7 separate regions of the Homo sapiens genome follow, and all the other regions are linked to region 6. The links are contacts of gene promoters, found by promoter capture Hi-C in human tissues and cell types (Jung and others, 2019). All regions are on one chromosome and are shown on one strand. Each heading gives the region's core, a stretch centred on a gene start or on the middle of the fragment in contact. The rest is flanking DNA. Distances are from core to core; before and after follow the strand shown.

What was found. Contacts are between HindIII fragments. The study calls those that stand out against the background at their distance.
Region 1: a contact is called between the fragment with the promoter of SNTA1 here and the fragment with the promoter of MAPRE1 in region 6, in 1 of the 25 tissues and cell types used here (hippocampus).
Region 2: a contact is called between a fragment that was not itself captured here and the fragment with the promoter of MAPRE1 in region 6, in 1 of the 25 tissues and cell types used here (aorta).
Region 3: a contact is called between the fragment with the promoter of PXMP4 here and the fragment with the promoter of MAPRE1 in region 6, in 1 of the 25 tissues and cell types used here (dorsolateral prefrontal cortex).
Region 4: a fragment that was not itself captured here is called in contact with the fragment with the promoter of MAPRE1 in region 6 in 2 of the 25 tissues and cell types used here (aorta and bladder).
Region 5: the fragment with the promoter of C20orf144 here is called in contact with the fragment with the promoter of MAPRE1 in region 6 in 1 of the 25 tissues and cell types used here (dorsolateral prefrontal cortex).
Region 7: a contact is called between a fragment that was not itself captured here and the fragment with the promoter of MAPRE1 in region 6, in 1 of the 25 tissues and cell types used here (hippocampus).

The regions. Positions count from the first base shown.
Region 1 is chr20:33,442,385-33,445,084 of GRCh38, reverse strand. It overlaps SNTA1 (syntrophin alpha 1), which reads left to right and starts at 1,322. Exons shown (of 8, transcript NM_003098.3): 1 at 1,322-1,774. The coding sequence starts at 1,465. RefSeq lists enhancers at 317-376, 348-848, 827-896 and silencers at 1,127-1,606, 1,717-1,776. The HindIII fragment of the contact is 21,074 bases long and covers 1-2,700 here.
Region 2 is chr20:32,192,346-32,195,045 of GRCh38, reverse strand. PLAGL2 (PLAG1 like zinc finger 2) reads left to right here. Exons shown (of 3, transcript NM_002657.3): 3 at 1-2,542. Among named protein-coding and RNA genes, the nearest start is that of PLAGL2, 14 kb to the left of the region's middle. The HindIII fragment of the contact is 8,636 bases long and covers 1-2,700 here.
Region 3 is chr20:33,718,919-33,721,618 of GRCh38, reverse strand. It overlaps PXMP4 (peroxisomal membrane protein 4), which reads left to right and starts at 1,309. Exons shown (of 4, transcript NM_007238.5): 1 at 1,309-1,524. The coding sequence starts at 1,412. RefSeq lists an enhancer at 1,713-1,762. The HindIII fragment of the contact is 6,661 bases long and covers 1-1,563 here.
Region 4 is chr20:33,554,229-33,556,928 of GRCh38, reverse strand. All of the region lies in intron 1 of CBFA2T2 (CBFA2/RUNX1 partner transcriptional co-repressor 2), which reads right to left. Among named protein-coding and RNA genes, the nearest start is that of CBFA2T2, 65 kb to the right of the region's middle. RefSeq lists an enhancer at 1,590-1,749. The HindIII fragment of the contact is 6,731 bases long and covers 1-2,700 here.
Region 5 is chr20:33,660,877-33,663,576 of GRCh38, reverse strand. C20orf144 (chromosome 20 open reading frame 144) reads right to left here and starts at 1,250. Exons shown (of 2, transcript NM_080825.4): 1 at 1,106-1,250; 2 at 1-45. The coding sequence starts at 1,231. All of the region lies in intron 5 of NECAB3 (N-terminal EF-hand calcium binding protein 3), which reads left to right. RefSeq lists an enhancer at 1-667. The HindIII fragment of the contact is 51,797 bases long and covers 1-2,700 here.
Region 6 is chr20:32,818,631-32,821,330 of GRCh38, reverse strand. MAPRE1 (microtubule associated protein RP/EB family member 1) reads right to left here and starts at 1,377. Exons shown (of 7, transcript NM_012325.3): 1 at 1,303-1,377. RefSeq lists enhancers at 1-328, 329-998 and a silencer at 1,071-1,660. The HindIII fragment of the contact is 10,810 bases long and covers 1-2,700 here.
Region 7 is chr20:33,691,463-33,694,162 of GRCh38, reverse strand. No RefSeq gene overlaps it. Among named protein-coding and RNA genes, the nearest start is that of E2F1, 6.4 kb to the right of the region's middle. The HindIII fragment of the contact is 8,188 bases long and covers 1-2,700 here.

The sequences.
Region 1 (2,700 bases), core at 73-2,572, 620 kb before region 6:
CCACCTCAGCTGTGATTACAGGTGTGAGCCACTGTGCCCAGCTGGGGGTGCTCTTAGCTACTCCAGGAGGCTAATGTAAAGATAACACTTGGAAAATATTCTGCCAGCCCTAGGTAAGAGTAAGCATTCACTAAATGAAAGTGATTATTTCTATAGAATAGGGAGTCACAGTTTACCACGTGTTTTCACATTGATTTAATCCTCACACCAGCCCAGTGAAGTAGGTATTATTATGATCCACATTTTACAGATGAGGAAATTGAGGCCTAGAGCAGTGACGTGAGGGGACCAAAGTCGACTTGGAGCTAACAGAGGCAGCAAAGATTAGAAACCATGTCTCCAGTCGCCCAGACCCAGAGCCCCACCTTGCAACCCTCTTCCCACACACCAGTTCTGTTTTTTTTCTGCCAGGCCTCAAAGTGTGGGACTTCAGGCTTTTCTATACTCGACTGTGAACACAGCCAGGGGTTAATCTCTTAAACTTCCCTCCAGTTTTGAAGTGGGGATCCTGCCCACACCTCCCCCAAGCCCTAAGCGGTGTCGGTAGCGGTCTCCTCCAGGGGGCGGGGCCTGTCATCTTTAGAAGCCACGCCAGCGATAAGCCACGCCCACAGACCAAAGCCTCGACCCCCACCCCCCATCCCCCGCCCTCCCCGATAGGAAACCAACTTCTTCCTCAGCTCCCCAACTAGCAACTGTGCCCGCAAGGTCTCTCGCGGCTCAGCATCTACCTTTTTTTTTTTTTTTTTTTTTTGACACAGGGTTTCGCTCTGTCACCCAGGCTGGAGTGCAGTGGCGCGATCGCGGCTTACTGCAGCCTCGAGCTTCTGGGCTGTCATCTAGGCCTCCCAAAGTGTTGGGATTACAGGCGTGAGCCTCCACGCCCAGACGGTGTCTACCTCTTAAACTCAAGCCTTGGAGTCCAACGCTCTACCATACGCAGCCCAGCCCTCCGCCATATGCAGCCCAGCCCGATGCCCAGTGCTTCGCACCAGGATACGTGGTTCTGTCTCTTTTTCATGCGCTCCCACGTCCGGGAGTTACAGTCCCGGCCCTCGATGGGCATTCCGAGCGCCGAGCCCCCTGCGCGGGCTCACTGGGTTCCGCCCCCGACGCGAAGCCCCGCCCCCTGACGCCCCGCCCAGCACCACGCCTCCCGGGCTTTCGCCTTACTTAGTGGCCCGCCCCGCCGCCCTTCTGACCCACCCCGCTAGGTAGTCCCACACGGCGGCCCTCGGCTCCCGGGCCCCGCCCCGGCCTCCTGCATTTGCCCGAGGCCCCCTCCCCAGCACTGGCCACACCCCAGGGTAGCCCCGCCCCCAGAGCTCCTCCCCCAGCGGCCGGGGTAGGGTGGCGGCTGGCCCAGCCGGGCCCCCGCTGCCCTCTGCCCTGGGCGCTTGGTCGGAGCGGGCTGGGCAAAGCGGGACAGGGCGAGCGCGGCGGCCCGGGGGCTCGGAGGCGAAGATGGCGTCCGGCAGGCGCGCCCCGCGCACCGGGCTGCTGGAGCTGCGCGCCGGGGCGGGCTCGGGGGCCGGCGGCGAGCGATGGCAGCGGGTGCTGCTGAGTCTGGCGGAGGACGTGCTGACCGTGAGCCCCGCCGACGGCGACCCTGGTCCCGAGCCCGGCGCTCCGCGGGAGCAGGAGCCCGCGCAGCTCAACGGCGCCGCGGAGCCGGGCGCCGGGCCCCCGCAGCTGCCAGAGGCGCTACTGCTCCAGCGGCGCCGCGTGACGGTGCGCAAGGCCGACGCCGGTGGGCTGGGCATCAGCATCAAAGGTGGGCGCGGGACACCGAGGGCGCGGGGTCGTGGTGTCTGGGGGCAGCCGAGGGCGCAGGGGGCTGGCAGCGCGCCCAGGACATGGAGCTGGAGGCTTCCTGTCTGGGGGTAAGGGGGGTCTGAGGAAACAGGTAACGGAGGGCACTGGGCACACCAAGGTTGGAGGGGGTTTCAGTAGTTGGTGGCCTTAGGGGGCACGGAAGACACAGGTGTGGATAAGATTGTGGGAGCACCAAGGACACGTGGGTGGGAGTTCTGTGTGGAGGCGGGGGGGTCTGAGGGGTAACCAGCATGAACATCAAGGACAAGAGGGGTCCCCCGGAAAGCAGAGTGTGGAGAAAGGGGGTTGAGGCCGGGACACCAGTGGGACAGGGAGGAGGGAGTCCCTGAGAAGCAACCAAGGTGGGTGCAGAGGGGAAGCCTGGAGTCTGGGAAGCACAGGGGTGGATAGGAGGCCTGGGTGCAGGCACAGGCTGGGGTCACAGGCAGAAGGCCAGCAAGGACCTAGGAATCTAAGGACCCAGGAAGGCTGCAGGGAGCCCTGACAGCTGGATTTGGGTCTCCTGATCTGACTATCTCCACCTTGCACAGGATAGAGCTTTCAGCCCCCAGGACTGACCGCTAGTGGGGTGCAGTTAGGGTGCAACCAGACTGTGTTTGAATCCAGGATCAGCTGTGTGAGGTTGCAAAAGTCCCGTCCCGCCTCTGAATCTGTTTCCTCAACTGTATAAGAGGATGACAGAGTTGTGATGTTTCTGAGAGCAGGGCTCACCACACCAGCACACTGTAGGTGCCTAGTTAATTACTGCTGTTAGCGGAGAGGAAAAATGGAGGCCAGCAGATACTCCCAAAGCAACTAAACATAGTTGTTAAAATCCTTGCACACCCCCAGCTGCTGGGTTCACTATTCCTGCCCATCTGTTTC
Region 2 (2,700 bases), core at 198-2,697, 630 kb after region 6:
GGCAAGGTTTCTTGCAACAAATGATTAGTTCTTTTCTTCTGACTCGTGGGGCTCCCTGCTGCAGAGAGCACAGCCCTTGCCTGGAGCCCAGGAACCCCATCCTTGCTTCATCTCAGTTCTTCATGGGCTTCACTCTTCCCACTCACGGAAGGGAGGTAGCTCAGGGACCTCCACTGTGGGACCCTTGAGACGCTTCCACTCTGATTCAGAAACACACTTCTACCTCTTTACTGTTAACTCTTAACAGATGCAGTCAGCAGTTTCTGGGCACTTCTCTCAGTAGGTGCCTCATGCTGACTTCTCCAGTAGGGTTTCAGGACAAACTACCAAGGAATTGCCTCAGCCTCCTACCAGTCCTCCCTCACCCACCTTCTGTCTAGGTTCACTTGGTTTGTCATCAGGAACTGAGCAGGTCCAGGACTCAGCTTTCTGCTTCAGCCTAAGCCAGTACTCCTTGTTTGAGGTAAAAGCCTTAAAATTTAGCTCCCTAGCTCTTGATTAGAAGCAATTTGGAGTAAGTGTGTTTTGATTTAGGCAGGGTAGCTTGGGATACCTTTTTAAAAACACCAGATATTAAAATGTCTGGCAAGGTTAGAATCAGACTAGATGATTTGCTTCTAAAAATTAGTTTCAGTGAGTCCCAGGGACTAATTAAGGTTTATTTTAAAAAGTGTCTACCTTGGTACGCAGCCACCTCCTGCATGCTGTGCATGTTATTGGGACTTGTATTATAGGTGATGGTATGTGAGAATCCAGTTGGGACTCGCTGTTGCCATCCTCTTTGTTGTATCTGGTTTTCATCACTAGACTCAGCAACCCTTCTCACCTTAACTGCCACCTTCCCTACACTCTCAGTTTACAGAGGCCACTGGGCCTCTGGCTGCAGAATACAAAGTCCCGGGCTGTTAGAGGAGTCCTTTCCTCTCTGCCTGCCCTTTCCTGTCCCTCCCTCGAATTCTCTCTCCCCGTAAGTGATGCTGGAAAAGTCATAGGACTGGCAAAGCAACTGTTTAAACCCTTTGTAACCGGGGCCTTGCCCCCACCTCCTGTCTTTTCTCCTTGCCTTCCCCACTCCTGTGTCCTCCCATCTATCCTGTCTTTCCTTTCCTCCTCTCAGTGTCCTCAGCACCCACAAGGAATTTTCCTATCACTGTGAACTTTGCTGGTACAGAGGAATAATATCTGCCTTCACCTTTTTTTTTTTGGACCATAGCTAGCCAGTCATTTCTTAAACCTCCCTTCCTAAAATCTGGGGGGTCGGGGGGAAAGAAAAAAAAAGCCTTAGTGGCCTGGTTGTTCAAAGGATAAGAATAGCTTTATCCTGCACTCAGTACCCGAACTCACTTCAGTATGCTTACTGAGGCCATGAGAACCTGAGGGGCATCTGCCCAGGACAGGAGCCATGGCATATGACAAAGACCAATGAGGGACCAGGAAAAAAAGTGATGTCCCCTTTCCCTGCCACCTCCAGCCTCTGCCAGCAATGAGCTGTCCCCCTCCCACCCTACACAGTAGCTGGTCAGGGCTGAGTACAGTCCTGGGGGTAAGGGGATGACATGCCCAGGTGTCAGCTCAAAGGATCTCTGCATCATCTTGAGGTGGGAGGCAGGGAAAGGAGCGCCAATGAGGTTCCCTGCAACCCCCGCCCTCCAGCCCACCGCCCAACCTTTTACAAATGGCATTTTCTTAATTGAAAATCCGGGAAGCAGGTGTGATTACTTTTTTGCTCGTAGATATTGTCCTAAGTTGGAATTCTCCCACTGCCCTAAAACTTTCCCTAGTAGTCCTTTAAACTCCCCCCTCCCTTTTTGGTAGCTGTTTTCTCCGTCCTCTCTCCACCTGCCCTCTTATCTAGGAGCTGTTTGTAAGCACGATTTTTTTAACAGGTTATATTGTACAGGATCAATATTTTGCTTTTTAACAAGGATATTTATGTAATAAGAAACTTTGCCTTAGGCAGGTGTTGGCCAGAAAAGTCCAGATTCCTCTGGGATCCCACCCTGGCCTCTCCTGGAACTCTGAACCTGCTGTGGAAGGAATTGGCCATGACCTTCACCTCTGGAGAGTAGGGTCTATGGCGAGGGAAAAGGGTGTTCACCATGATAACCTAGTGCCTCCATAGAGGGGTTTGGAAAAATTCCAGTCCGATTTCTTTGTGTGTCAGCTGACTTCCTTAGCTGATTGTTCCCACTTGCACCTCTCCACCTTTGGCACTAGAACTCCTGAGACACCACTTCTCATGCTTCTCCCTCCCTACCAGCGGTCAAGGCTTTGGAGCCACTCTTTTGTAACTCCAGATTATTTAAAGAGAAAAGTACAAGACAGAAATCTTCTAGCACTTTGTAAACACAGTGAATAACCTCTTGGAGTATTTTTGGCTTTATATAAAACAAGGTTTTTAATTGTAAAGTATAAGTGCCATTAGAAAATGCACAGGGCATATCTTTGTTAAAGTAGATTTTTCAATGTTTTACAGAATTACATTTTCAAAAAAAGGTTTTTATAATGAAGTTGTTTATTAAAAACTTCTGAATGATGTGTTTGGGAGTTGTGAACCTGTCTGATTGGGAAACGGTTGGAGAGAGCCTCGAATTGGGAAGAATTGGAGTCTCCAGACATCTTTAGCATCCAGGATGATGGTGAGCGTAGGGCAGACAGTAAAAACCCCTCCCATCAGCACCTATAAGCTTTGTACTTTTA
Region 3 (2,700 bases), core at 60-2,559, 900 kb before region 6:
ACTTTGGGAGGCCGAGGCGGGCGGATCACAAGGTCGGGAGTTTGGACTAGCCTGGCCAATATGGTGAAACCCCGTCTTTACTAAAAATACAAAAATTAGCCGGGCGTGGTGGCATGCACCTGTAGTCCTAGCTCCTCAGGAGGCTGAGGCAGAAGAATCCCTTGAACCTGGGAGGCAGAAGTTGAAGTGAGCTGAGATCACACTACTGCGCTCCAGCCTGGGTGATAGATCCGAGACTCAGTCTAAAAAAAAAAAAAAAAAAAAAAGAGCCAGGGTAATGAGTCAGAGTGGACAGTGCTACTTCAAATTGGATGTCTCAGAAAGTCTCTCTGATGAAGTGGCATTTGAGCTGAAACCTGAAGGATGAGAAGAAGCCCATCATGGGAAGAGCCCAGGATGGCGAATATCAAGCAGGGAACCAGCAAGTGCAAAGGCCCTGAGGTAGAAGGGTTCTTGGCCCAAGGAACAGAAAGGAGGCTGTTTGGCTGGGAAGCAGTGAGGTGGCAAGTGCTGGAACGTGGGGTCAGAGGGAGAGGCACGGACCAGATCACAGGAGGTCTTCTCTCTTGGGCCTTGGGGAGGAGTTTGGATTCTAAGAATAAGTGGACGCCGGCTGGGTTCACGCCTGTAATCCCAGCACTTTGGAAGGCCGAGGCAGGTGGATCACCTGAGGTCAGGAGAGCAGCCTGGCCAACATGGTGAAACCCCGTCTCTACTAAAAATACAAAAAAATTTGCCAGGCATGGTGGTGGGTGCCTGTAGTCCCAGCTACTCAGGAGGCTGAGGCAGGAGAACTGCTTGAACCCTGGGGGGTGGAGGTTGCAGTGAGCCGAGATCGCGCCACTGCACTCCAGCCTGGGTGACAGAGCGAGGCTGCATCTCAAAACATACATACGTACATGGAAGCCATTGAGGGGCCATGTGACTGACACTCTGGGAAGATCGCTATGGTAAAGGATATCCCAGTCAGAACTATCTCGCATAAAGATGGGGCCCTGCTCCTCCCTGTATCATCACCTGTCGCCCATCCCATCTCTAAGCAGGGCCACTCCTCATTCAGGAGCCCTCCTTCCAAGTACACGCCTCCTTCCAAACCCACTCGTGAACCCAACATGGCCCAAGGGAAAGTGCCTTCTGATTGGACAAATCGTGTGTGACCTTGGGCGGAGCCCACTGTGATTGGCTACAAGCTTTCCTTTCTCTTCCAGTCAGACAACTATTTCGATGAGTGCTATTGTCCCATGAGACAAGTACGCTCTCTGATTGGTCTTCCATGCATGAGTGACGCAGAAACAGCCTATAGACGCCACGAGTCGGCGGCGCTACCGAGGGGCTGTGGGCGCGCAGCTGGAACCTCCGGCTGTCAGTGCGCTTACAGTTCCTAACCCCGACCCTGCGCGCAGCCCGCACTATGGCAGCCCCGCCGCAGCTAAGGGCTCTGCTCGTAGTCGTCAACGCACTGCTGCGCAAGCGCCGCTACCACGCTGCGTTGGCCGTGCTTAAGGGCTTCCGGAACGGGGCTGTGTGAGTGGGGCCGTCGGGCCGGGCTGGGGCTGAGGGATGTCCTGCCTGGGGTCAGAGGCGCGAGTTCGAAGTCCGATGCCGCGGTGCTGTTTGCCCTGGAGCAGTCCTCGTGTGTCTCTAAGTCTCGGAGGTCACCATCTGTGCAATGGGAGCTGGATTTTGGCTTGCGCGCCTTCCCAGCTCTGAACTGGGGCTCCCACTGCACATTTTCTGGGTCTTCCAACCTTTGCAGCCTGGCCCTCTTGCTTTGACTCCTCCCATGCCAGCTTCTGTATCCCCTCATTTGGGTTCAGTTCACCTCACCTCTCTGTGTGCCTTTGGGCCTCAACGGCCCCATCTGCACAATGGGGAACTGGACTCTGGCCTCTAGCTGGCAGGCGGATGCCTCCTGTCTATTCTGTCCCCATGAAGCTTGCCCATGGGCTTGCATCCTGCTTCTCACTTCTCACCTGTAGGACTCCAGCGCTAAGTCCCGTTCGGCTCAGGGGGCTCCTGGGACGTGACAATGAATGTAAAAGAAGCTGCAACTATCCTGGCATCTTACCTGCAAGAGAGGTCTTGGGGTCATTGCCCTGGCTGGTGCCTAGAGGGGAGCTCAGTCTCCTTTAAACCTAGTGCATAACAGCCACCATTTATTGAGGGCCTACAGTGCCAGAACCGGGGACAAAGCAGAGAACAAACCAGAGAAAGTGGTTTGTGTCCCCCAGAATTGGCATCCTAGTGGCAACGTGGGATGGTGGGAAGGATGTGGATGCCTTGGCTTGAACCCTGGCCCCACCTACCCGTGTGATCTGGAGGAAGTCATTTAGCCTCTCTAAGCCTCAATATCTGTAAAATGGGCATGGTACTAGTACTTATACTATCAGGATTGAGTCAATATGTGTGAAATGCTTAGCACAGGCTGGCCACGGTGGCTCACACCTGTAATCCTAGCACTTTGGGAGGCCGAGGCAGGCGGATTATCTGAGGTCAGGAGTTCGAGACTAGCCTGGCCAACATGGCAAAACCCCGTTTCTACCAAAAATACAAAAATTAGCCGGGTGTAGTGTCACATGCCTGTAGTCCCGGCTACATGGGAGGCTGAGGCAGGAGAACCGCTTGAACCCAGGAGGTGGAGGTTGCAGTGAGCTGAGATTGTGCCACTGCACTCCAGCCTGGGTGACAGAGTGAAACTCC
Region 4 (2,700 bases), core at 88-2,587, 740 kb before region 6:
AGCCAGTTAGAAGGGACTACCACTGGAATTGTGCAACAATTTAAGCATCAAAATAAATAATGATAGTAATGGATTAGAGCATAATCCATATTTAATTTTTTTAACCAATCAACAAGGAAGAAAGGAAAGCATTCCTTCATTAGAATGCCAATATGTAAATGCAGAAACAATGATGGAATTAGAAAATTACCACTAGTAGGGTGCAGCTGCTCATGCTTATAATGTCAGCACTCTGGGAGGTCAAGGTGGAACAATCACTTTAGGCCAGGAGTTCAAAATCTGCTTGGGCAACATAGTGAGACCTTGTCTCTACAAAAAAAAATTAAAAATTAGAAAAAAGAAAATCACCACTAGATGCTGAGACTACTAGTGAATAGAAAACTAATGAAAAACAGGACAACTTCATCATCTCTAAATATACCCAACAAATTACTTATTAATCACAAAGAGGATAGTAATTTTTGCAGTGGAGTAACCTGGCAGACATGACCTTAATACAATGATTAACCAATCACTAATATTGAGACACACTGATTATGTGCCTCCTTAAATGAGGCATTAAGGAGAATACATCCCTTCTATAGTATTCCAGCCTGAAATTCGTAACATTAATGTAATCATAAGGTAACGGCAACGAAACCCAAACTAAGTACAGAACAACTGGTCTGTATTCAAAATTGGAATGGTCAAGAAAAGAAAAGTACCAGGAGGGGAGAAGAGGAGGCAGGCAGGCTGAAGAACTGTTTTAGAATAAGAAAAATTAAAGAGCCGCAGTGGCTCACATTTGTAATCCCAAAACTTTGGGAGGCCAAGGAAGGTGGCTTACTTAAGGTAAGGAGTTCGAGACCAGCCGGAGCAACGTAGTGAGACTCCATCTCTACAAAAAGTAAAAAAAATTAGCCAGGCATAATGGCATGTGCCTATATTCCCAAGTATTCAGGAGGCTGAGGTTGGGGGATTGCCTGAGTCCAGGAGGTCAAGGCTGCAGTGAGCCATTATTGCACCACTGCACCCTAGCCTGGGCACCAGAATGAGACCCTGTCTCTAAGAAAGAAGAAAAAAGGAAAGAGGAAAGGGGAAAGGCAAGGAAGAAAGAGACATGCCAGTTAAATTCAGTGTGTGATGACAGACTGAATTGGATTGAGGTATAAGAGCTATAAAAGACATTATTGAAATAATTTATAAAACCTGAATATAGTCTGTGAATCAGGTTAATAGTATGGTATCATTATTACATTTTCTGATTTTGATAATTGTACTGTGGTTATGTGTGGTTATGTAAGAAAATGCCTTTGATTTCAGGAAATATGCATTTAAGTATTTAGGGATAAAAGGGCATATTTCCACTTTCAGAGTGGTTCAGGAAAAAAACTGTACCTCCAAAATACACACAATGATAAAGCAATTGGAGTAAAATGTAAACAACTTATAGAAAGTTGCAAGAACTCCTAAGTATTTTACTGTATCAAAAACAAAACAAAACAAAAAACAGAAAACAAGTCCCATCCATGACAAAAAAGTGTGAAGACACTCTTGTGGGTATTAAGTGAACATGTGTGTCAGTCCATGATCTAATGATCCCATTCATGACGGTCTCTTCTTTGGTTTCTTACTCTGATGATGACAACTACATGCCATTTTAATGTTTTTTTTTTTTTAAATTGGGCAGCCATTAGGCTGAGACAGCTGGCTCCAGTGCCTAGTAAGCAAACTGAAGCCCAATGTAAACATAAAATGAAACTTAAGCTTAACCAATCAAAAACAAACCTCTAACTAGGGACTTTCCACTGGATCATATCCAAATAAGGCAAGTGCCTAGCTACAGCCAATCAAGTAATTCCTTTACTTTGCTACAGCGTTCAGCCTATAAAAGCCTGCTTCTAAAGCAGAGCTCTCTGAACTTCTTCCAGTTTTGAATGCTGCCTGAATCCTTTAATGCTCACCTAAATTCTGCTAAATGTCTGTCTAAAGTTTTTATTTAAACAATTCTGAACATTTTTAAGTTGTTATTTTTTCTTATGTAATATTCATTTTAATACCTATAATGGGTACTCTGACATTCAATCTAAATTAATAGAAAACAGAAAAATAATTCTACAAATACACTTGAGATGCAGACATCTGAGTTTGATTTATCAGATCAAATCTCTCATCTAGCACATAAAAATGATTCTAGACTTTCAAACAACGTTAAAAAAGAAAAACAGCCAGGCGCAGTGGCTCACACCTGTAACCCCAGCAATTTGGGAGGCTGAGATCACTCCACTGCACTCCAACCTGGACAACAAAAGCGAAACTCCATCTCAAAAAAAAAAAAAAAAAAAAAAAGAAAAGAAAAAGGAAAAGGAAAGAAAAGAAAAGAAAAGAAAAAAGAAAAATAGGCCGGGCGCAGTGGCTCACCCCTGTAACCCCAGCAATTTAGGAGGCTGAGGTGGGCAGATCACTTGAGGTCAGGAGTTCGAGAACAGCCTGGTCAACATGGTGAAACCCCGTCTCTACTAAAAATACAAAACCTAGCTGGGCCAGGTGGCACAAGCCTGTAATCCCACTCAGGAGACTGAGGCAGGAGAATCACTTGAACCCAGGAGGCGAAGGCTGCAGTGAGCTGAGATCATGCCTCTGCACTCCAGCTTGGGTGACAGAGCAACACTGTCTGAAAAAAAAAAAAAAAAAGAAAAAAGTAAGAAAAATAAACACTGG
Region 5 (2,700 bases), core at 1-2,500, 840 kb before region 6:
CAGCGGCTGCCGCTTGTCCAGGGGGAGAATCAGCACGATCCTGGTCTGGGGGTGGAACAGGGGCGTGAGGCGGGAGAGCGCGCTAGGGCCGAGCCCACGACCCGGGGCCGCTCCGCGCTTCTCCTGGGACCCTCGTCCACCCGGGTCCTGTCGTCCACCCGGGTCCTGTCATCCTCTCGTGCACAGGGCTGGAGGGGACCCCTGTCCAATTCAGGCCGCGGGGAAGCCCGCCCTTCCCTGCGTGGCGCCCCGGACTCCGCCTCCTTTCTGGAAACCCTCATCCATCCCAGGCTGACTTCCTGAGACCAGCTCCGTCTAAGTTTATGAGATCCCTTCCAGGCCCTATGTCAGGGGCTTTCAGCACCTCCCACCCCCGCCTGGTCCAGGGCTTCTGCTCATTTGAGAGGGAGACAGGGAAGTTCTGAGCCTAGGAGCTGAAGAGAGGACACTAGGGAATTCCCCCTGCCTCTAGCTCCAGTAGTACCAACTAGAACTGATTCTCCGTGTTGGGATCTCCACCCGTTCGTCCAGGGTTGGGAGAGAATCCCACTCATGCTCACCCCCCGGGGCTCTCAAGTCTCATCCACTTTCTGGTTCTGGAATCTCTGCCCTCCCTTCTGGGCTTTTTTTGTTTAAGACTGAGTCAAACAGGGTCTTGCTGTGTCCTACAGGCTGGAGCAGTGGTGCTGTCAACGGCTCACTGCATCCCTGACCTCCTGGGCTCACGTAGTCCACCTCAGTCTTCTGAGTAGCTGGGACTGCGGGCATTCACCACCACAACCAGCTAAGTTTTAATTTTTGTAGAGATGGGGCCTCCCTATGTTGCCCAGGCCAATCTCAAACTCCTGGGCTGAAGTTATCCACCCACCTTGGCCTACCAACGTGTTGGGATTACAGGCGTGAGCCACCTTGAAAGGACCCCCATCCACACCCATATGGGCTCCTGGGATCCTCATCCTTGGGAGAGATTTTCGAATTCCTCCCTCACCCCCTAGGACTTCTGCATACAAGGCCTAGACTCCCAGCATCCCTTCCCACCCACTTGTCCAGCTTTCTCTGCCCCCCAGCTGCCTCCCCAGCCCTGCTCCCCATCCCCCGCCCTCACAGCCGGCTTCTTCCGAGTGAGGTGGTTGAGGAACGATTTCCACCAGGCCTTGTCCATGTCAGCCGGCCTCTCCTTGCGGGCCTGCTTGGGTGCTTTGGTCCTTTTGTGGGAACTATAGTTTCCCATGGCAGGGCTGGTCACCACTGGGGACGATGGCCCACACTCCGTCTGCTCTGCCCCCTGGGCCCTGGCAACATTGTGACCTCACGGGCTGACCTCACCAATTGCAGGCTCTGAGCACCGCCTTCCAGGGCCCACAGGTGAATCTGGGCTCCACTCAGTCACTTCTAGCCTTGGTTTCTCAGCTGTAAAACTGGGCTAATGATCATAAATGAGGCAATGCATGTAAGGTGCTTAGTGGTGAATAGAGGGGGATTTCTGTGGTTTGGGTATGAATTTTGGCCCTGCTACTAACTTGCTATGTGACCTTAGCCCAGGTAATCAACCTCTCTGGACCTGTTTTCTCATCTGCAAAATGGGGTCAATTATGGTTCCTGTAAATTGTTACAAAGGTTAAATGAGGCCTGGCATGGTGGCTAATGCCTGTAGTCTCAGTACTTTGGGAGGCCGAGGCGGGTGGATCACCTGAGGTCAGGAGTTCGAGTCCAGCCTGGGCAACATAGTGAAACCCCGTCTCTACTAAAAATACAAACATTAGCCAGGTGTGGTGGCACAGGCCTGTAAACCTAGCTATTCAAGAGGCTGAGGCAGGAGAATTGCTTGAAGCTGGGAGGCAGAGGTTGCGGTGAGCCAAGATCATGCCGCTTCACTCCAGCCTGGGTGATACAGTGAGACTCTGTCTCAGAAAAACAAAAGACTAAATGAAATTCTTCTTGCAGTAGTGCTTGGCTCTGAGTGGGTGCTTCTGTCTGTTCTCTGGTTGAAAGCAACAGAAACTAATCATCTCAAATACCCAAAAAGGAATTTTTTGGGAAGATTTCATGGAGATAGAAACCCTGGCCTGTCTGAGAATGAAAAGACCCAGCCTCTTCTCTGTCCCTGTCTCCTAGCTCATAAGCCTGGCCCAGGAGGTCCCATCCGATGGCTGAGCTGAGGCAGGTCATGGCAGGAGATGAAGTCTCTGATGGATGGGGCTTCTGGAGTCTCCTCGGAGAGGGCAGGCACCTGGACTGCAGCTCCCCAGGACTCCCACCCTGATGCGTGTGTGTGTGTGTGGTAGGGGTTAGGCAATTCTCAGGACATCTGTGACTCCTGGGTGTACAAGTGGGCAGGCCCTTTATTGTATTACACTTGACGATAGATGGCTGGTAGGTCTGGCATCGAGAGCTTACGTGCCAGACCCTGGGCTGAGTCCTATGCAGGAATTAACTCCTGGGACGTTCTTGCAGCTCCATGTGCTGAGTTTCATCTTTCCTGTTTGATAGATGAGGAAATGGAAGCTCCAGGAACTGACGGTTGTTGAGGAGCCTCAGAATCCCATGCTGGGCCATGCAGGGCCTAGCATTTGGGCAGCCTCCCTGCCTCTCTGCCACCCTGAGAGGGGCTGGGAGGAGGCTGGCAGTGTCGGTTGGGGTCAGTGCCGGCGTGTGTGTCTGAGTGAGAATGGCAACCTGATTGTCTTTTATCAGCAGCTC
Region 6 (2,700 bases), core at 128-2,627:
GAAAGTAATCTCTCTTGCCAGGCGCGGTGGCTCACACCTGTAATCCCAACACTTTGGAGGCCGAGGCGGACAGATCACTTGAGGTCAGGAGTTCGACAACAGCCTGGCCAACATGGCGAAACCTCGTCTCTACTAAAAAATACAACAATTAGCCGGGCTTGGTGGCGCGCGCCTGTAATCCCGACTACTCGGGAGGCTGAGGCACGAGAATCGCTTGAACCCGGGAGGCGGAGGTTGCAGTGAGCGATGGTGCCACTGCACGCCTGGGCAACAGAATAAAACTCTGTCTCAAAAAAAAAAAAAAAAGGAAGAAGAGAATCTCTCTTAAAGACAGTGTTAGTATTAAAAGACACAAAGCCACATGGAGCACTTAACAGTGCTTGACACAAAACAAGTGCCCAACTAACAAAGAGCTGCTATTATCATTACTACTGTTAGAGACATGCCATCGGAGAAGCGGATGCCCGGCCTAGCATAACCTCCCTCAATGGGCCCCAGGATCCTCATCCCCAAAATGGGGCAGAGGTCAAGCTCTGCCCTGCAGCATCCGAGGGCAACTGTGAAGTAGGGACTGAACTAGCACTGTTGATACCATCCCGTTATACTGTCCTCCTGCTCATCATAATGTGGATTCCTGGAGAGCAAATCTTTGTTCCCGGGAAAACAGCCAGGGTTTAGCACGGTGCCCAACACCTAGTGGGCATTCAATAAACACACACTGAAGAAAGGAGGGAGTCCAAGAGCTGGCTTACTTTCTGCCATACATCGCGCTAAGAGTTTAATGTGGGTAGTATTACTGTCCCCGTTTTACAGATGAGGAAGCTGAGATCCACAGCGGTTAAAGCACCTGTCCAAGGTCACACCGCACGGAACCCAACCCAGGTCTGACTCCACCACCCGATCTCTCGGCCCTCAGGCAACACGGCCTCCCACAATGTGCGTCCCCAGAGCTCCCAGGACGGCCCACCTCGCCCACACCCTCCCAGGGCCCAACCACCCTGGGACCTCCAGTCGCTGCAGCGCAGGGACCACACCTCAGCGGCGGCCCAGAAACCCCCACCCCGCGTAGCAGCAGCCCACTTCCGGCCCGAGACCCCGCCCCCTGAGCAGAGCGCAGCGCGCGCCCCCAGGCCCAGCCCGCGCGCGCCGGGTGACGGCCCCGCCCTTCCCCCACCCGGCTCGAACAGCACCGCCGTGTGGAACGGCCCTGGCGCTGCCCGTAGGGCCTGCCCGCGCACGCCCGGCCTTGGCCCACGCGGCCGCCCCCCCAGCCGCACCCCCCGGGCCCGCTAGCCGGCTCACCGGCTCTCGGCAGAACCGCGTCCACTGCCCGCAACCGGCTCCGGTTCCGTCTTCGTCTCGTTCAAACCGCCAGACCCCGCCCGCCCGCCCGCGCGATGACCTCACACGCACCCCCTCGTTACGCGCCGACGTAAAGGCTCGCCATCCTCCGCCGGCTCCTTTTATAGAGAGGGTCTCAGCCGCGCGCCGGGGGCGGAGCTCGGCCCCTGATCCACAGAACGGTAGCCGAGGGGCGGGGCCCCGACCGCCGGGGCGACTGCGGCACGTGGTCGGTCGCAGCCAATGAGGTCCCGCCTCGGCCCGGTGTGACTCAGTTACAAAATCCCTATGGCAGTAACCAAAAAGAAAATTGCTTTTACAATGAATTTTTTTTTTTTTTTGCTTAGAGATGTATGGAGGTCTCGCTGTGTTGCCCAGGGTGGTCTCGAACTCTTGGCCTCAAGCGATCCTCCCGCCTTAGCCTCCCAAAGCGCTGGGATAACAGGCGTGAGCCACCGCTCCCAGGCTTACAATTAATTTCTGTAAGAATGGGTTATTGAATCATAAAGATACCTAATAGACACTTTGGGGAAACGCTTAGAAGTCAACTTTCTGGGCCGGGTGCAGTGGCTCACGCCTTTAATCCCAGCACTTTGGGAGGCCCAGGTGGGAGGATCACCTGAGGTCAGGAGTTTGAGACCAGCCTGGCCAACATAGTGAAACCCCATCTCTACTAAAAATACAAAAATTAGCCTGGCGTGGTGGTGGGCGCCTGTAATTCCAGCTACTTGGGAAGCTGAGGCAGGAGAATCACTTGAACCCAGGAGACGGAGGTGGCAGTGAGGCGAGACTGCACCACTGCACTCCAGTCTGGGCGACAGAGCAAGACTCTGTCTCAAAAAAAAAAAAAAAAAGTCACGTTCTGTGACGCCCCCGCCCCCCCATCTGCAATATCATGCGGCATATTTTCTTCTTAGTACCATAAGAAGGCATCTTGTGCCTTTACTGTCTGTCTCCTGTAAAGTCCACAGGAGCAAGGACCTCCTGAGTCCTGTTCCGGGTTGTTTCCCAATGGCTGTACATACATTCTCTCTTGCCCACTCCCTCTTTTTTTTTTTTTTTTTTTTAAGAGATGGGGTCTTGCCATGTTGCCCAGGCTGGGCTGGTCTCCTGGGCTCGAGAGATCCACCCGCATCGGCCTCCCAAAGTGCTGGGATTACAGGCGTGAGCCACCACACCTGGCCCTTACATTCTCAAGAGAGCCTTGGCTGAAGGAGGAACTGGGCTGGGCGTGGTGGCTCACACCTGTAATCCCAACACTTTGGGAGGCCAAGGCGGATGAATTACCTGAGGTCAGGAGTTGGAAACCAGCCTGTCCAACATGGCGAAACCCCATCTCTACTAAAAATGCAAAACTTA
Region 7 (2,700 bases), core at 171-2,670, 870 kb before region 6:
ACAGTGGCCCAGGGCTTTGGAGGGGGTGAGGGAGGGGTGTAGTGAAGGACGCCCATGTTTCCCCTCCTAGGCCTTGCCTCCCAGCTAAGAAACAGACCCTGACCTTCCTTCCCCCGCACCCCACCTCCTCAGCCTCCGCAGTGCCCTCCATGGCCCCTCGGGGGCCTACCTCCTGCCCACTGGGCCCCTGGCATCCCCGGCTTCCCAGCTGGCCCAATTGTTGTTACTCCCCAGGGAGTCATGGGAACACACTCCCCCTGCCCCGCCACCCCCCTTTTCCCAGACAGGGCAAGGCCCTAACAATGTCCCTCAGCCAGCCAGTGGCCTGGACACAATACCCCTGTTTCGGTTTGCTGCCAGCTCCAGGAGGCCTGCTGGGTTTCCTGGCCTGTGTGGCATATATATAACTCTGGCTTCCAGCGGGGATTTTTTTGTTTGTTTGTTTGTTTTTTAAAAAAAGAATCTCTGGCTCCTCCTCTTTGAATATCTTAATATATTATAAAAAGTCTTTCTCTTCCCATCCTGAGCCCTCCCCATATGCCTCCCTGACTGCATTTGCCATGTGCCTGTCAAGCCGGGGACCAAATGCAGGTCAGCAGGTGTCAGTGAGAAAATGACAAAAAGAAAGAAAAGCTGATCACTCCACCATGACCAGCCTCGAATGTGCTGGGGATGCTGAAGGTCATGAGGACAACCTGAGGGCCTGTGACGTGGCGGGCCCTGAGCCTGGCACTTTTTGTACACCACAGCTTGTCACTTCTAAGATGCCATCCAATATGAGATATGCCGTTTTGAGCCCCTAAGAAAAATAGTTACTGACTACAAATGGATATTCCACTGATCCTAGGATGCACCTCAATTTCAGAGAGGTTAAAATATGAAAGAAAAGGTGTCAGAATCAATGGAATATGGTATTATTTCATTTTACACGCTTCGTTGCCCTCCAAACATAGTTTTTTTTTTTTCCTCCTTGTGGCTAATAGAATGTGGGAGGCAGTGCAGGAATTGCTTCATGAAAATTCTGCTATTCTGCAGCCTAACAAGTTTTTCGTTTTTTTCTGTTTTTTTTTTTTTTTTTGAGACAGAGTCTCATTCTGTCACCTAGGCTGGAGTGCAGTGGCGCGATCTCAGCTCACTGCCATCTCCACTTGCTGGGTTCAAGCAACTCTCCTGCTTCAGCCTCCCAAGTAGCTGGGATTACAGGTGTGTGCCACCACAACCAGCTAATTTTTTTATTGTTTTGTTTTTTTATGAGACAGAATTTTGCTCTGTCGCCCAGACTGGAGTGCAATTGGCGTGATCTTGGCTCACTGCAACCTCCTCCTCCCAGGCTCAAGCGATTCTCCTGCCTCAGCCTCCTGAGTAGCTGGGATTACAGGCGTCTGCCACCACGCCCGGCTAATTTTTGTACTTTTAGTAGAGATGGGGTTTCGCCATGTTGGCCAGGCTAGTCTCGAACTCCTGACCTCAGGTGATCCACCCGCCTTGGCCTCCCAAAGTGCTGGGATTACAGGCGTGAGCCATTGCGCCCAGCAAGAAGCATTTCTTCAGAGGAAAAATTGAGAGGGGAGTGTAGGCAAGCCACTTCAGGGAGTCATTCTGCACTCTTCACAACAGCTGACATTCATTGAGCTCTCCCTATGTGCCAGGCATGTTAATAACTCAATGTCCTAACAACTCCATCAGGTAAACACTATGATTATTATCATCACTATTTTACAGATGAAAAAACTGAGCCCCTCAACTGTAAAGGCCTCCTACTCCCACCTTCGCTGTGGCCCTGGTCAGAGGAGGCATAGTCATATGTCCGGTTTCGCCCCACTCCTTGGAAAAGCATGACCCCTCCTGAGAGGCTTGGGTGACGCAGAGAAAGGAAGTTGCCATGGGTGAGGCTTGGAGAGAAGGGAGGTCCCCAGAGCGTGCACTCAGAGAGTGACCAGGGCTGGGGGGAGACTTGAGAATCGACTGAGACCTATGCAGTTACCTTGGACCTCAGACCCTCTGGCCTGAACCCACGGAACATATGGGCCAACTGATGGTGAAGGACTTGGCCAAGGCCACACAGCCAGGCTGCTGGCTGGCACCAAACCCCCTGTCTGCTGTTTGATTACAAATATCTGCCTTTTTTTTTTTTTTTTTGAGATGGAGTCTCACTCTGTCACCCAGGCTGGAGTGCAATGGCTTGATCTTGGCTCACTACAACCTCCACCTCCCCGGTTCAAGTGATTCTCCTGCCTCAGCCTCCCAAGTTGCTGGGATTACAGTCGCCTGCCACCACACCCAGCTAATTTTTGTATTTTTAATAGAGATGGGGTTTCACCATGTTGGTCAGGCTGCTCTCGAACTCCTGACCTCAGGTGATCCACCCACCTCGGCTTCCCAAAGTGCTGGAATTACAGGCGTGAGCCACCGCACCCAGCCACGAATATCCACTTTTCCCTCTCTTCTATGTCCATGTTTTTGTTGTTGTTGTTGTTTGTTTGTTTGTTTTTAGATGGAGTTTCACTCTTGTTGCCCAGACTGGAATGCAATGGTGTAGTCTTGGCTCACTGCAACCTCTGCCTCCCAGGTTCCAGCAATTCTCCTGCCTCAGCCACCTGTGTAGCTGGGATTACAGGTGCCCACCACCACGCCCAGCTAATTTTTGTATTTTTAGTAGAGACGGGGTTTCACCATGTTGGCCAGGCTGGTCTCGAACTC